Linked DNA regions of Homo sapiens: regions 1 and 3 are each linked to region 2. Evidence: promoter capture Hi-C in 16 types of primary human blood cells and fetal thymus (Javierre and others, 2016). All regions are on one chromosome and are shown on one strand. Each heading gives the region's core, a stretch centred on a gene start or on the middle of the fragment in contact. The rest is flanking DNA. Distances are from core to core; before and after follow the strand shown.

Region 1 (4,616 bases), core at 2,068-4,567, 630 kb after region 2:
CCTTGTCCCCCACTGGGACTTTTTTGGCTGTTTTTCCTGAGGCATAATACTTCAGTCACTCAGGTTTTTGTTTATTTTTACTCAGACCACAAATAACCACATTTATGCATGCAATTCATCAGTTCATTTTACAACAATCTAAAAAAAAAAAAACCACACATGCATCCCATCAGTCAGAGAGTTGTGATAAATTCAGAATTTAAAATTCAGCAAAAACAAATAAAAGGCTCCTTGGCTTTGCAGAGCCGTAGATGTCTACAGGGTGGGTCCAAAGACCAAGGTCCAGGTATATTTACATATTTCTAGTCATGTATGGTTCAGGAGCAACCATCATAAAACATGACCATAACAATCAACCTGTTGAGGGATAAGTTACTTGATAGCATCTGTTAAAAGATACAAACCATACACCAGGTACTATTCTACCCACAGTATATCTACTATTTTACTCCAGTCCATCCTCACAGCAGCCCTATAAGAAAGTTCTAATATTACCTCCATCTTATACATGAATAAACTGAGGCATTGAAAGGACATAGGACTACTCAAGGTCATAGTGGCAGCTCCAGATCTTAAGTCCAGATGGGTTGATTACGGAGCTCCATGCTCTTATCTAAGATGCCAGAGAATTTATATGTAACTTAAAAATTGGCTCTTACGGTAAAGAGGCAGCTCTTTCTTCAAAGAAATCTGGTCAATTATTGTTTAAATGAACCTGTTATAAAGCAAATATCCATCTACCTCTTGAAAAATGAGTTTTGAAAATTCAAATTTTCAAATGGGAGATTTGCTAAAAGTAGAATGAGCTTCTCACCAACTAAGTCTACAGAACATAACTTAGGAAGAGTTGCTGGAAGACCGGCCGACCCAGGGGTTCCCAAACCTGTGGAGCATCAGTGCCTAGACAGATCAATGATTCCAGCAGGAAACATTCTGATTCATCAAGTCTAGGGTGGAGCTCCAAATTCTATTTTTTTAAGCTCTCCAGGTGATTCTGTTGCCTAGCCAGGCTTGGGAACCTCTAATCTAGTCTGTCTTCACAGTTTCAAGCAGGTCCATTTCCAAGGCAAATAGAAATTGATCCCCTATTTTCTATTTCACAATCTCCCTTGGTTACATACACTCAAACCCTTGTGTTCCCAAGCCCTTACTGCCCCAAGTTCTAGCAAACCTCTTTTTCCTTCCTGATTTAATTTGAGGCAATATCCTCTGGCCCTTTCTTCAATAGAGAACCATGAGTCATCACCATTGCATACACCCTATGTCTGCATGACTCTCCAGGCCAGAAAAACTTACTGTACGTGGGAAAATCAGGAAGTTGTAAAATCCAAACAGACACAAAGAAATTCAAGATTCAACAAATACTGGTTCCCCTAAACAAATAGGTCTCTGTTTTGCTACGCACATATTATACTACAACAGTAATCTAAAATGCAAAAACTGTGACTTAAGATATCTGGTAGCATAGCATTCTTAATTGTATTAAGGAAAACTGACAATTAAAATGATGAGGTTCAAGCCCCAATTGGCAATTATCAATCATCGCAAAGTCAAATGAAAGTCTTCATGAACATATAGATTAAACCAAATAGATAGATACTTTAATCGAAGTTTTAAAAAACAATCTTGGCAATTTCTCAACTTCCCACACTATGCCCAAACAGAGTTTGCAAAGAAAATGATATTCAACAGCCAACAAAGTAAGGGAGCATGGCTAGGAGGCAATTTTCCAGGTCAGGACTTTATCCTCAGATGGAAAACAGAGAGCATCGCAAAACTCTCACCTGACATGTGATGCACTTCCCTGTAGTGGCAGTGGAGGAGGAGATTGCTGTACAAGGATGACAAACAAATCTGCAGCTTGAATGGACCACCCTGGTGACTTGATGCACGATGCTCCTGCAATGGTCGAGGGAGTGCAGGAGAGGAAATCCAAAATGAAAAACAGAATAGACTGCTTTAAAAAATAAGTCCACCTTAAGTGTCTATGCACCGAAATACAAATTTTAAGAACATCACATTCGGCATTCTGTTGTATGAGAATTACACAGATCCCAGCCAGCTCAAAAGGCAGGTCTGGTTTTACTCAACAAGGCTCAGAGGGAGGCCAACATACAAAAAGGTCATCCCTTCCATCAAATTAAGAGGATGGTCTCCCCATTTGAGCCAGCCGCTGTCATTCTTTTCTCCAATGATTCTAGCCAATCATCTGATAAACACATGCTGGTAACTACAAGGAGTATCAGGTGAAAATGGGCATGGATTGAATAGTAATTGAGCCAAAGCCTAATTTTAATGTGGCATATATTATCTATCAACATGCAACTTGAAACACAATGATGAAAGTGCACAGCTATTAGCATACCAGTCCAATGGAATAGAAGAAAGGAAAAAATGCAGAAAAAAAGTGTAAAGTGTGCATTTATATTCACTAAACTTTCCACTAAACTTTATTTAAATACTGAATGTACATCTCATTTTCATTTTGCCACAATTCCTTGCACATGGTTAAGTAAAAATTTTCCATTGTATGATGAATGAGTGAATGTGTGAATGGATGAATGAAAGAAAGAATGAATGAATCTTCCATATACCTTTCCATCAGGGAGCTTGGTGCTTGTAGTAGTTTTTGTGAGGTAAAACCTATGCATAGAAACGGAAGAAGTTGAGGACTCGATCTGCTAACGTATTTTTTTAGCCCTATCCATTAAAATTATATTCTTAAATACCGGTAATTACCAATTATCCACATTAAACAGAAAAAAAAATTTTTTTAAAATCAGTAGCAGGGTTACTATAAAATCATCCCCAAACTAGTGAATGCTGGACTGATTTTCAGTCTTTGATTACTGGAGCTGATCTGCACATTTGCTTAGGCTGATTTTAAACTTAGTTTGGGTTTCCTAAGCTCACGCCAGGTAACAGTAGGAAGAAGGAGGCCCAGGTTTATATTGGATGTCAGAAAGAAACTATTCTGGAGCTATGAATATGATCTCCAATGTGAATAATCCGTAAACAGGTAAGTGAGCCAATTATCCTTGGGTACATGGCAACACATCTCGGTACTCATGATTATTTTCATCCATACACACTCACTATTTTTAAGAGCACAGCCCAGCTGGAAAGGAAAATAACTTCCACTTCTTTCCAGCACTTTTCAAAGTAATGAACAGTAGCCAAAATGTTCTTACTTCTAACTAATCCATTCACCAAGCATTTATTTAAGCATTGATTGCCTGCCGAGGACTGATATGCAAAAGAAGGAATTCTTGTAGTCCTTGGTTTCCCCACATGTGATCTGTGCGTACAGAGAAGGAAGGTAAGCTGTTATACACTATAAGGTCTTTCAGATCTTTAGAAGGCACAGTCCCTCCACCAAGAAGCCTGTTGAGTTACAAATATAAATAATGGCCAAGTTAAGTAGAAGTTGACAAAATTCTATTTAATCTTAGTACTTCTTTAAGGATGAGGAAGCAGGGAGGGAGGATCATGATGTCATCTCAAATTAAGCATCAAAATACTTGATTCTCAAATGAGGTGCAGGTACCATAAATTTACAGACAGTGCTTTTTATGAGCTCACCAGTTGGGAGAGTGTTTGCCTATATGACAATGTGTGTGCACACAATCCTGTTTACATATCACCTGGCAGATAAGGTTTTATAGAGTCCAAGTTACAACCTCCTCCTAGTTTGCTGAAGTGCAGAGGAGGGTCAAACATGATGTAAATGCCATAGAAGATTACTTTACTCTTGCATGAGTATGCTTTCTTATTTCAAAAGTATTTGTGTTGCTGCACTAGTTAGGATAATACAGAGAGTTTACATAACTTGTATTCCATCAGAGGGAAGAAGGCAAGAATACAAGCAAGGCAGCACGTATTCACTGCAAAAACTTACAAAATAATATACCAGAAAATAATTTATAGGACATTTTATACAATAATATACACCAAAAATGGAATACTCAATATTTTTAAAACCCAGCAGAGCAACATAATACAATACTATTAATATTGGAAGATTAACAAGAAAGACGGCCTAAACAAAACTGAGGTAATGGTCAGTAAGTACCAGGAGATAATGTGAGAAAGGGGAACAAAATTAAGGGCACAAGAAAATAAAGTTTGCCATACACAGTGACAGAAAAATATATTTTCTTTGAACGTTAGAAGGATAGATGCTATAGGTTAGTAGCTACAATAACTGTCACGAAAAACTTCTGCTACCTAACTCATTCAAAACTTGTCATGTTAAAGGGCACCTAAGTGTAAAAAAAAAAAAAAAGAGTTCCTCTTAGCCCAAATCAAAACATCACAATCGGGGAAACCTCTGCCCTCTTGAGTCTCAAATTCTGAGTACACTACCATGAATTTTCTGGAAAGTAATTTTCAGGTAGGATACAATTTTTGCTTACATTGTGGCAATTATCATTACATTTTCATTACTCCACAAATGGGATGCATTAAAAGTTACAGAAAAATCAATGAAACATTTCTGCTAACATGAAATATGTCAAACAAAATATAATGCTTGTTGCTTTTTTGTCCATAATTGTTCTCTCTAAACGTGTTTTGGTACATTTGGGATGGTAGTAATGCGTAATACAAATATTTAT
Region 2 (4,071 bases), core at 1,551-4,050:
GCACGCTGAGTATCTGGGACTACAGACACATGCCATCATGCCTGGCTAATTTTTTATATTTTTAGTAGAGATGGGGTTTTGCCATTTTGCTCAGGCTGATCTCAAACTCCTGGGCTCAAGGGATCTGCCTGCCTCGGCCTCCCAGGGCTCTGGGATGACAGGCATGAGCCACCACGCCTGGCCAAAAAGTTTTAAATAAAATAAACATGTCAGATTTTACCTATGCTTCTACAAACTATTTTACAAGCTTAGATTTTTTAAAAAAACAATGAAATCATACTTGCAAAAGAAAAATCCCTGCTAAAACCAAAAATATAAGTTATTTTTAAAGTAGTCCACAAAGTGGGTATTTGGTTTGGGTGTTTGCTTGTTTTATTTTTGTTTATTTTTTTTTTCTTGGCCAACCAATATTTTCCCGTTCTACTCATTTCCACACCTGGTCCCATTGATTCTATGAGTTTCCAGTTAGCCAGCTTTAGTTTCTATTGTTCATAAACAAAAATACTAACCAATATAACTGGTCTCCCTATTGCCCCTCGCCTCTTCTTCCTCTTCTGAAACTTCTAGCAATTAAGCATAAAGTAGACAAGGAATGAACCAAACGCTATCTTCCAGATAAATTCCCCAGATTATTAGTAAACTGGAATTCAGGGAATAGGCACTGCAGTTAATACAAGAAGGGACTGTTTCAGCCCACAATAGCATGAGGTGTATTTATAAGACAGAAAGATGTGAGAGTGCACCTGTTCCTCTGCAACAGTGGGGGTTAGGACTTGGACAGTTTACAGTTTTACTCGGTCAGCTTTAGCAAAGAACTGTGTGTGGGAGGATCCCTCCTTTTTTTTTAGCCTTGGGCTCTGATATCGTACCTGGTTGTTCGGAAATAAAGGCCACTAACAGATCCTTGGGACTCGTGAAGGGGGGTAGGGACAGGAAAAGTCATCATTAAGCAGTGAAGGCACTGAACTTATAGCTCCCCTTACATACACGGGGACATTCAAATGCTTTTGTGAACGTTATTATCTTTGCTGCGCTTCCCAACAATGCTGGGTGGAGACAGAGCAGATATTGCCATCTCCATTTTACTGTTGACAACACCAAGCTTCAGACAGATGAAGTAAGTTTTCTCTTTTTTTTTCTTTCGTTGTTTTCTTTTTGTTGTTGTTGTTGTTTAGAGACAGGGTCTTTTGCTCTGTCGCCTAGGCTGGAGTGCAGTAGGGGGATCACAGCACACTGCAGCCTCGAACTCCCAGGCTCAAGTGATCCTCCCACCTCAGCCTCCCATGTAGCTGAGACTACAGGCAGGCGCCACCACGCCTGGCTAATTTTTTGTATTTTGTGTAGAGATGGGGTTTCGCTGTGTTGCGAAACCGGGCTGGTCTCAAACTGCTGGGCTCAGGCGATCCTCCTGCCTCGGCCTCCAAAAGTGCTGGGATTACAGGTGTGAGCCATCGAGCTGGCCTGAAGTAAGTTTGCTAAGTTTCCACGGCTGAAACCCACATCATCTGGCTCCTATAAAGAAATCAAAAAGGTAGGCTATGTAATATATTGGCAAAGAGGAACAAGCGGTAAATGAGTGAAGGGTTGTAGACCTTTAATAGCTAATATTGCAGTAATGCCACCTGTTAGGTCAGGAGATGAGCACCTTACCTTAAGACGAGGACAACATCTGGTTGCCTGTGAGAAGGGACAGGCAGGGTATCAGGTGCTGCACAAATGTTTAATGAATGAGTGAGATAAGACAGGAGGTAGAATGAGCAACCTGAGAGAGGGCCTGGTACCCTGTAAGGCGTTTTGATTCAGCAGAACGAGTAAGGAGAAGCCCTTCCGGAGTGTAACACACCAGCACTAGACCAAGACACCTGGCTCACTGGTCAGCTGCAAAAACTTTCATACTCAGATTTTGTTTTTCTCAATGATGAGGTCTTAATAAGGAACAACAATTCTGCCTCCAAGCAACCCACTGTGGCTAATCCTGGTGGAAAAGAGTTTTCTTTTTCTCTTTTTTTTTTCTTTTTTCTTTTTCTTTTCTTTTTTTTTTTTTTTTTTTTTTTTTTTTTGAGACAGGGTTTTTTGCTCTTCTTGCCCAAGCTACAGTGCAGTGACACAATCTCAGCTCACTGCAACCTCCGCCTCCTGGGTTCAAGCGATTCTCCTGCCTCAGCCTCCCAGGTAGCTGGGATTACAGGTGCCCGCCACCACGCCTGGCTATTTTGTTTTTTTTTTTGTATTTTTAGTAGAGACGGGGGTTTCACCATGTTTGCCAGGCTGGTCTCGAATCTGACCTCAGGTGATCCACCCATCTCGGCCTCCCAAAGTGCTGGGATTACAGGCGTGAGCCACCATGCCCGGACGAGAACAGTTTTCTTTAGGCTTTGGGTTGCTCCTTTTCCTTTTTGCTTTCACAACCGAAATGCGTGCTCAGAGTGATCCAAGATATTTGAAGAACAGTGGCAGCTTGGAGGTGTTTAATCACCGTAAATTCGAGACGGCAGAAAGGCGTCCCCGCCTGGAGCCCCGGGCGATCGCTCACTCTGAGCAGCGTCGCCCAGCGGACAGAGGCGGCTGGTGTGTTCCGGGGTCTCCCTCCCTTCCCGCAGCACTCGGCGCCCGCAAGCTGCCACCTCCCGGGGCGGCCAGGGAAACTCAGCCGGCTCTGGGAGGCGGGGGCCGCGGTCGAGGGGCGCCGCTATTGGCTGATCGGGCGGGGGAGGAGGGGCAGGGAGGCCGTGATTGGCGGGGACCCGAGCTGAAGGGGGCGGGGCCGCTATATCAGCAGAGTCCCTGTCGCAGCGCAGGCAGTTGGGCTGCTGGAGTGCGGCGCCACCGCGGAGGACAGGGGCAGCTGGCGGGCAGCGGGTGAGGGGGTGGCGGGGACGCGAGTGGCGGCCGCGGGGCCCCGGACAAGGGTCCGCAGAGCTGCAGCCTTCGAGGGCCAGCCCTCTCCGAGTCCGGGGCTGGGTCCCACCAGTGACAAGGCGGCAGCCCCGCGCACACCAAAGAGAAGGCGGCTGTGGCGGCAGCGGCAGCCCCAGCCATGCTGTGTTATGTGACGAGGCCGGACGCGGTGCTGATGGAGGTGGAGGTGGAGGCGAAAGCCAACGGCGAGGACTGCCTCAACCAGGTGAGGGCGAGGGGCAAGAAGGGGCCCCGGCGGGTCCCGCGAGGCCGAGGGGCCTCGCAGCGACGCCTGGCACTCTGGCGCGCCCCCTACTAGGGGCCGGGAGGCACTGCGGCGGCAGCCGGGGGGAGCGCGTCCCCTCCTCTCCACGGGCGTGGGGCGCGCGGTCTCCTCCTGGCGCGCGTGGGGTGCGCGGAGAAAGCGCGCAGCGGGGGTCCCCAGCGCTGAGGGCCGGGCGCAGCCCGCAGCCGGGATCCACCCCCCAGCGCCCCATCATCCCCCCAACCCAGCACTTTCCCGGAAGAAGGCGGCTCCGCACACCTGCCGCAGGTATGTGCGTGATGCCGCCTGTCGGGTCCCCGCGGCGCCTGGCAGTGCCACCCGCGTGCCAGGATGGGATGGAGTGGCTCGAAGCAGTCTCGGGCCCCAGGGGTTCTTGGCAGACAAGCCGGGCCCTTGTCTCACGCTGCTTCTCAGGCTGCTGCTCTCAAATGCACCGTTCACCTGCATCTCCGGGTTTGCGGGGGACGGGAGGAATAGGTTTGGGTCATCTACTGCTCGGTTGTTTTTAAGCATGTGTTTCCTTAACAGTGAGGGAGATCGGTGCCAAATAGTGCAGAGGTGGTATGGCAGACAGCACATGTGATCCCAGGAAAACGCTGTGCCCTCAACCCCTCTAGCTCTGAGATGTTTGGAAAACCGCTTGTGAAGCTTAGCTGACACTTGTGGCGTGTTCCCTCAATGTGTTTGATTTTTGGAGTCCAAATGGTTAAAATTGCCCAGATAATAAGTCGCCAAAAATCAGCTGTGCAGAGTATGCTGGTGGAGGGAATTCCGGTGATTGGAATACGAAGGAAAATACCCTGTAGTTTCCCCTCCTCATCTTTTGGAAGGCTACTTTTGAGGACTCCTTTTTTCTCTATTGCAATTGGTCATGCCCTAGACGTTAA
Region 3 (4,542 bases), core at 1,078-3,577, 640 kb after region 2:
TACTGCTCGAGGTCATCGCCAAGGTCTGATTGCAAAAATTCAAAAAATTGCAACCATAAATGGGTTAAGAAAATCGATACATCATAGTTATTACAAATATATGAGGCACTGGATGCATTTCCTCTGAGAGCCAATCAAATTACAGGATATGTTTCCTAACTCCCCACACCTATTCCAGTTTAAAAGTTGTAGCTTGAGTACCAGGAGTAAGAACACGTGAACCCTTCACTCCCAGGGCTAGCTTTTCCTGCTGTCAATTTCATAATTATATTGCTCCGCCCCTTGGCTTAGCACTTCCTTTCCCCTCACTACCTTCTCACCCCAACCCCCAGCAATGAATCATCAGGCCTTTAAAGAGACTTAGACGACCCAGTGTGAACTTCGCTGGCATCCTGTACATTCTTATGCCAAAAAAGGGGAGTTGCTCTAAGACAGAAACTAGCCAGACCCTGATGCAGATCTTGGAGGCAACAAGCTTGGGTGCTTATCTGGGAAGATCAGCGAGGAGTTAATTTTCCTAGATCGCAATGGTGATTCAGAATTGCATATCTTAGTTCATGATTGGGTTTTTAAGAACCCAGTTCGACCCTTTGTACAGAAAGGAATATATCAAAGGGAAAAATGTTGGCAGATCTCCTTATGCAATCAGGGCAAAGGAATTTATACCACATTCAACTCTTTGATTTCTCCAGATCTGGCTGAGGGTGGGGTTTCCATATTTGTGCTTTGGCAAATGTGTCCAATAATTAACTCCTCCTGATATATGCCCCTAGTGTTCTTCCAGGTTATCATGTGCTTATTTGTGCATTTATTAAAACCAGAAACATTTTTGCCCCTTCATTGTTTAAATACTGTGTCTGAGTAATACAGGTTAAATAGACAACAAGAGCCTTGCCTTTTAAAGACTTTACTCCCCACCTAAAGAGGTGAAGGAGATATCATTTAAATAACATTATGCGTGTGCATATACCTTCTATATGGAAAGCCCTTTCTTCTCCTCCCTCCTTTTTTTTTTTTTTTTTTTGCATGGAGATTTTATCCTCATGCTTTTGAGATCCGGCTCAAGCATCAACACTTCTGTGAAGTCTTTCTTGATTATCACAGGAGTCTGCGGCTCTGCCCAATGTGTGAGTCAGAGAAGTGCTATTTTCTTATTCTTTTTATTTATACAATATTTTTTTAAACCTCTAACCGAAAAAAACAGGGCCATAAGCACAGATGGAGAGAGTATCCTAAGTGGGAGCTCTCTTACTTGAATACTTCCTGCTACTCCCAAACCCATTTGACCTCCCTTACAGTTTCAGCGTGCAACTGCGCTTCCTTTGTTTATGCTCCAATTATGTGACTCCCCTCCACTGATCAGTTTTTCATGTAACTTTCCACTGCCCTCTGTTATGAGTTGAATTGTGACCCCAAAAGATACATCGAAGTCCTAACCCCAGTAACTATGAGTGTAGCCTTATTTGGGAGTAGCATTTTTGCAGATGTAATTAGTTAGGATGAGGTTTTACTGTTTTAGGGTGGACCCTAAATCCAATGCAACTGTTGTCCTCATAAGAAGAGAAGACACAGAAACAGAGGAGACACAGGGTAGATGACCATGTGAAGACAAGGCAGAGACTGGAGATATGCTGCCACAAGCCAGGGAATGCCAGGGATTGCTAGCAACCACCAGAAGCTAGAAGAGGCAAGGAAGCCTCCTCTCCTAGAGCATTTAGAGAAAGGATGGCCCTGTTGACACCTTGATTTCAGACTTCTAACTTCCAGAACTGGGAGGGAATAGATACCTGTTGTTTTAAGCCACCCAGTTTGTGGTACTTTGTTATAGCCATCCTAGGAGACGAATGCACCCTCCTTATGAGATCCATGATTCCAGGTCTGTTGGATTCTCCTTTCTTCTCTTTATTTACGTATATGGCCCTACCTCTTCCTGCTGCAGATACTCCTAGGTAATCTGTTCTGGATGTACTTTTGGTCTTGCACCTATGACAATACCAATAAACAAAGAAAAGGTCTAATGGAATAGAAAACTTACAGAGTTCTAGAACCGCCTCCTCGTCATCCCAGAAAAACATCTGGCTTCTGGCTCCAGGCCTCAGAGAGCACAAGTACATTACACTCCTGCACGGGGCGTCAGCTGGTGTCGGCGTCCTCCTCGGCCCTCCTCAGCTCCCTCTGCTGGGCGCCCGATGCACCAGCAGCTTCCCTCTTCAGAAGTAGTCTTCCAGCATGTGGGTGGGGTTGGGGTGAAGAAGAGACCGCAAAAACTAAATTAATTTGATATTGAGGAAATACAATGCTAATTGTTTGGCTTTCTTTTACTGTCTATTTGAGTGTTATCAAAGTGCTTATGAAGACCTTGGTCTTTCTGATTCTCCTTTTTCAAAAAACCAAAAAAAACCGAGAAGCTCATTTGTTTCAGGAAGTTTCCCTGAGCGAGTGGAAGGGGAGGCCTCACACTGAAGCCAGAATACAAAGGAAGTCCTCTTGAGATGGATAAAGCAGTTCTTACATGCAAATCTCAGAAAATGGCAACTCCATCTTTCCACCTGTTCAAGCCCAGAACCGCTGGCAGTGTCTTGACTCTCTCGTCAGACCCCACATCCAATTTGCCAAAAATCCAGTTAAATCTACCTTCAAAACATATCCAGAATCTGACCATTTTTCAGCCCTGGGACTGCTACCACTGGAGTTAAACCACCACCGTCCTTCGTCAGGGTTACTGCGACAGCCTCCTAAATTGGCCCTTACTTCTCCAGTTACCGGCCCACACCAGTCTACTGCCTGCATTAGGTTGATGCCACAGCTCTGCTCAGAGACCAAGGGCTCCCCCAAGGTCAAGTAAAAGCCCTTCATGGCCTACAAGGCTGGCCTCGATCAGGTCCTCAACTTTTCTGATCTCATCTATCCCTGTCCTTGCTCCCACACTGCCAGCCTCACTGTCCTCTTTGCTGGTCCTCAAATAAGCCAGCTGCTCTCTTGCCTCAGGGCCTTTGTATTAGCTGTTCCCTCGGCTTGGAATGCTTTTCCCTCTTGTGTTCGCATGGCCCACTCCTTCATCTTCTTCAGGTTATTTTTTCTAAGAATCAACCTCCTAGTGAGGCCTGCTGTGAACACCCTACTAAAAATTCTACTCCCTCACTTTCCCGATCCACCTTGCCCTGCTCATTTATCCCATAAATGTGTTGCTTTATAACATTCTATGTCATCTACTTTGTTTGTTTGTTTATTGTCAGGAGGGCAGAGATTTTTTTTTTTTTTTGTCTGGCTCATTCATCTAGAATAGTTCTTGGCACATGATAGACACCCACTAAATAGGCATTGACTATTAAATGAATTAATCAGTAATGTTTTCCAGAACCTACTATGTGCAAAGTTCTGTCAGCCCCCAACACAATGATTATCTCATTAGGAGCTAATCCAAAACTAATCCATCTGGTCCACACTATGGTATAATATATGTTCTCTTTACTTGACCTTTGCCTTAGTGTCTGACATGACTATTAAAGCTGAGTTGGAATGAACTGAGTCTCACACTCAGGCTTTGCAGATGTCATTTCATTTCATCCCCATGATGATACTGTGAGATAGAGATCATGATTCTCACTTATTAGGTGATTAAACTGAGGCTTGGAGTTTAAAGGACCTGCCCAAAGTTCAGGGTCACCCAGCACTGGTTTCAAAGTGAAGTTATCCACCTATGCAGCTTGAGAATTGTTAACAAGTCATTACCTGAATGAAATAGGACAGTTACAGTCATAACACTGCATTGCAATGTTTTGGCTAAGGGACCATTTTTAATCCAATCTCTAGTTTTTGGATTATACATGAATTGTGAATAACACCTGTATCCCAGAAATTAAAGCTAGTGATGCTCATTGAGAACTGAGTATTTCTCCATAAGCGAATTGGCTTCAGATCAACCTAAGTGGTTTCCCAACTAACAGAACTCTATTCCAGCTTATAATTTTTACTCATGCTGCTACATGGGCTGGAAATGATTCTCACTTGAGGTTCATGCTTGAATCCCTAGAACCCTTTCCTATTAAAGTCCTGTCTAAAGTATCCCATTACAGTAAGGACGAAGGAGATCGTAAAGGGCCAACATGAATTCTCAAGGCTAATTTAATGACTTAATTTCCTTCAGTTACTCTGGGCTGAACTTCTCCTGTTCTACCCGCAAGCTTCCCAGAGTCCTCTGTGACCAGAATCGAAGCATAGTGTCTGAAAGTAGCCTGGCCACACAAGATGTGCAAAACACTGTAACCTCTTCACAGCCTCACTCCACTTTGTATTTGAGGGAAATGATTCTAGAAGCTGAAATAGACCAGAGTTCAACAGTCTGGGAAATTTGAAGAAGAAAAAAGGAAGAGAAAAAAAAAAAAAAAAAAAACCAAGCCCTGCATTTGCAGAGATGTGAAGAGAACCCAGCTCTCTGAAGTTGGAAGGAAGTGAGAAGACCCTATTTGTGGCTGCAGGAGAGGAAAAGAAAAGAGACCCGCAAGGAAACTACCAACAGATGGTAAATACATTTTTAATTCT

What was found. The method cuts DNA at HindIII sites, captures the fragments that hold promoters and counts their contacts. A CHiCAGO score of 5 or more calls a contact.
Region 1: a contact is called between a fragment that was not itself captured here and the fragment with the promoter of MYLIP in region 2, in 1 of 17 cell types (fetal thymus). The highest score is 6.9, in fetal thymus.
Region 3: a fragment that was not itself captured here is called in contact with the fragment with the promoter of MYLIP in region 2 in 2 of 17 cell types (total CD8 T cells and non-activated CD4 T cells); the score reaches 5.3 in total CD8 T cells.

The regions. Positions count from the first base shown.
Region 1 is chr6:16,751,449-16,756,064 of GRCh38, forward strand. It overlaps ATXN1 (ataxin 1), which reads right to left. Exons shown (of 8, transcript NM_001128164.2): 2 at 1,785-1,899. Among named protein-coding and RNA genes, the nearest start is that of ATXN1-AS1, 7.4 kb to the right of the region's middle. The HindIII fragment of the contact is 8,416 bases long and covers 1-4,616 here.
Region 2 is chr6:16,126,286-16,130,356 of GRCh38, forward strand. It overlaps MYLIP (myosin regulatory light chain interacting protein), which reads left to right and starts at 2,801. Exons shown (of 7, transcript NM_013262.4): 1 at 2,801-3,124. The coding sequence starts at 3,038. RefSeq lists a silencer at 2,483-3,482. The HindIII fragment of the contact is 2,730 bases long and covers 1,101-3,830 here.
Region 3 is chr6:16,768,973-16,773,514 of GRCh38, forward strand. LOC124901268 (a long non-coding RNA gene) reads left to right here. Exons shown (of 2, transcript XR_007059480.1): 1 at 1-4,522. Among named protein-coding and RNA genes, the nearest start is that of ATXN1, 9.8 kb to the left of the region's middle. RefSeq lists an enhancer at 146-440. The HindIII fragment of the contact is 3,709 bases long and covers 474-4,182 here.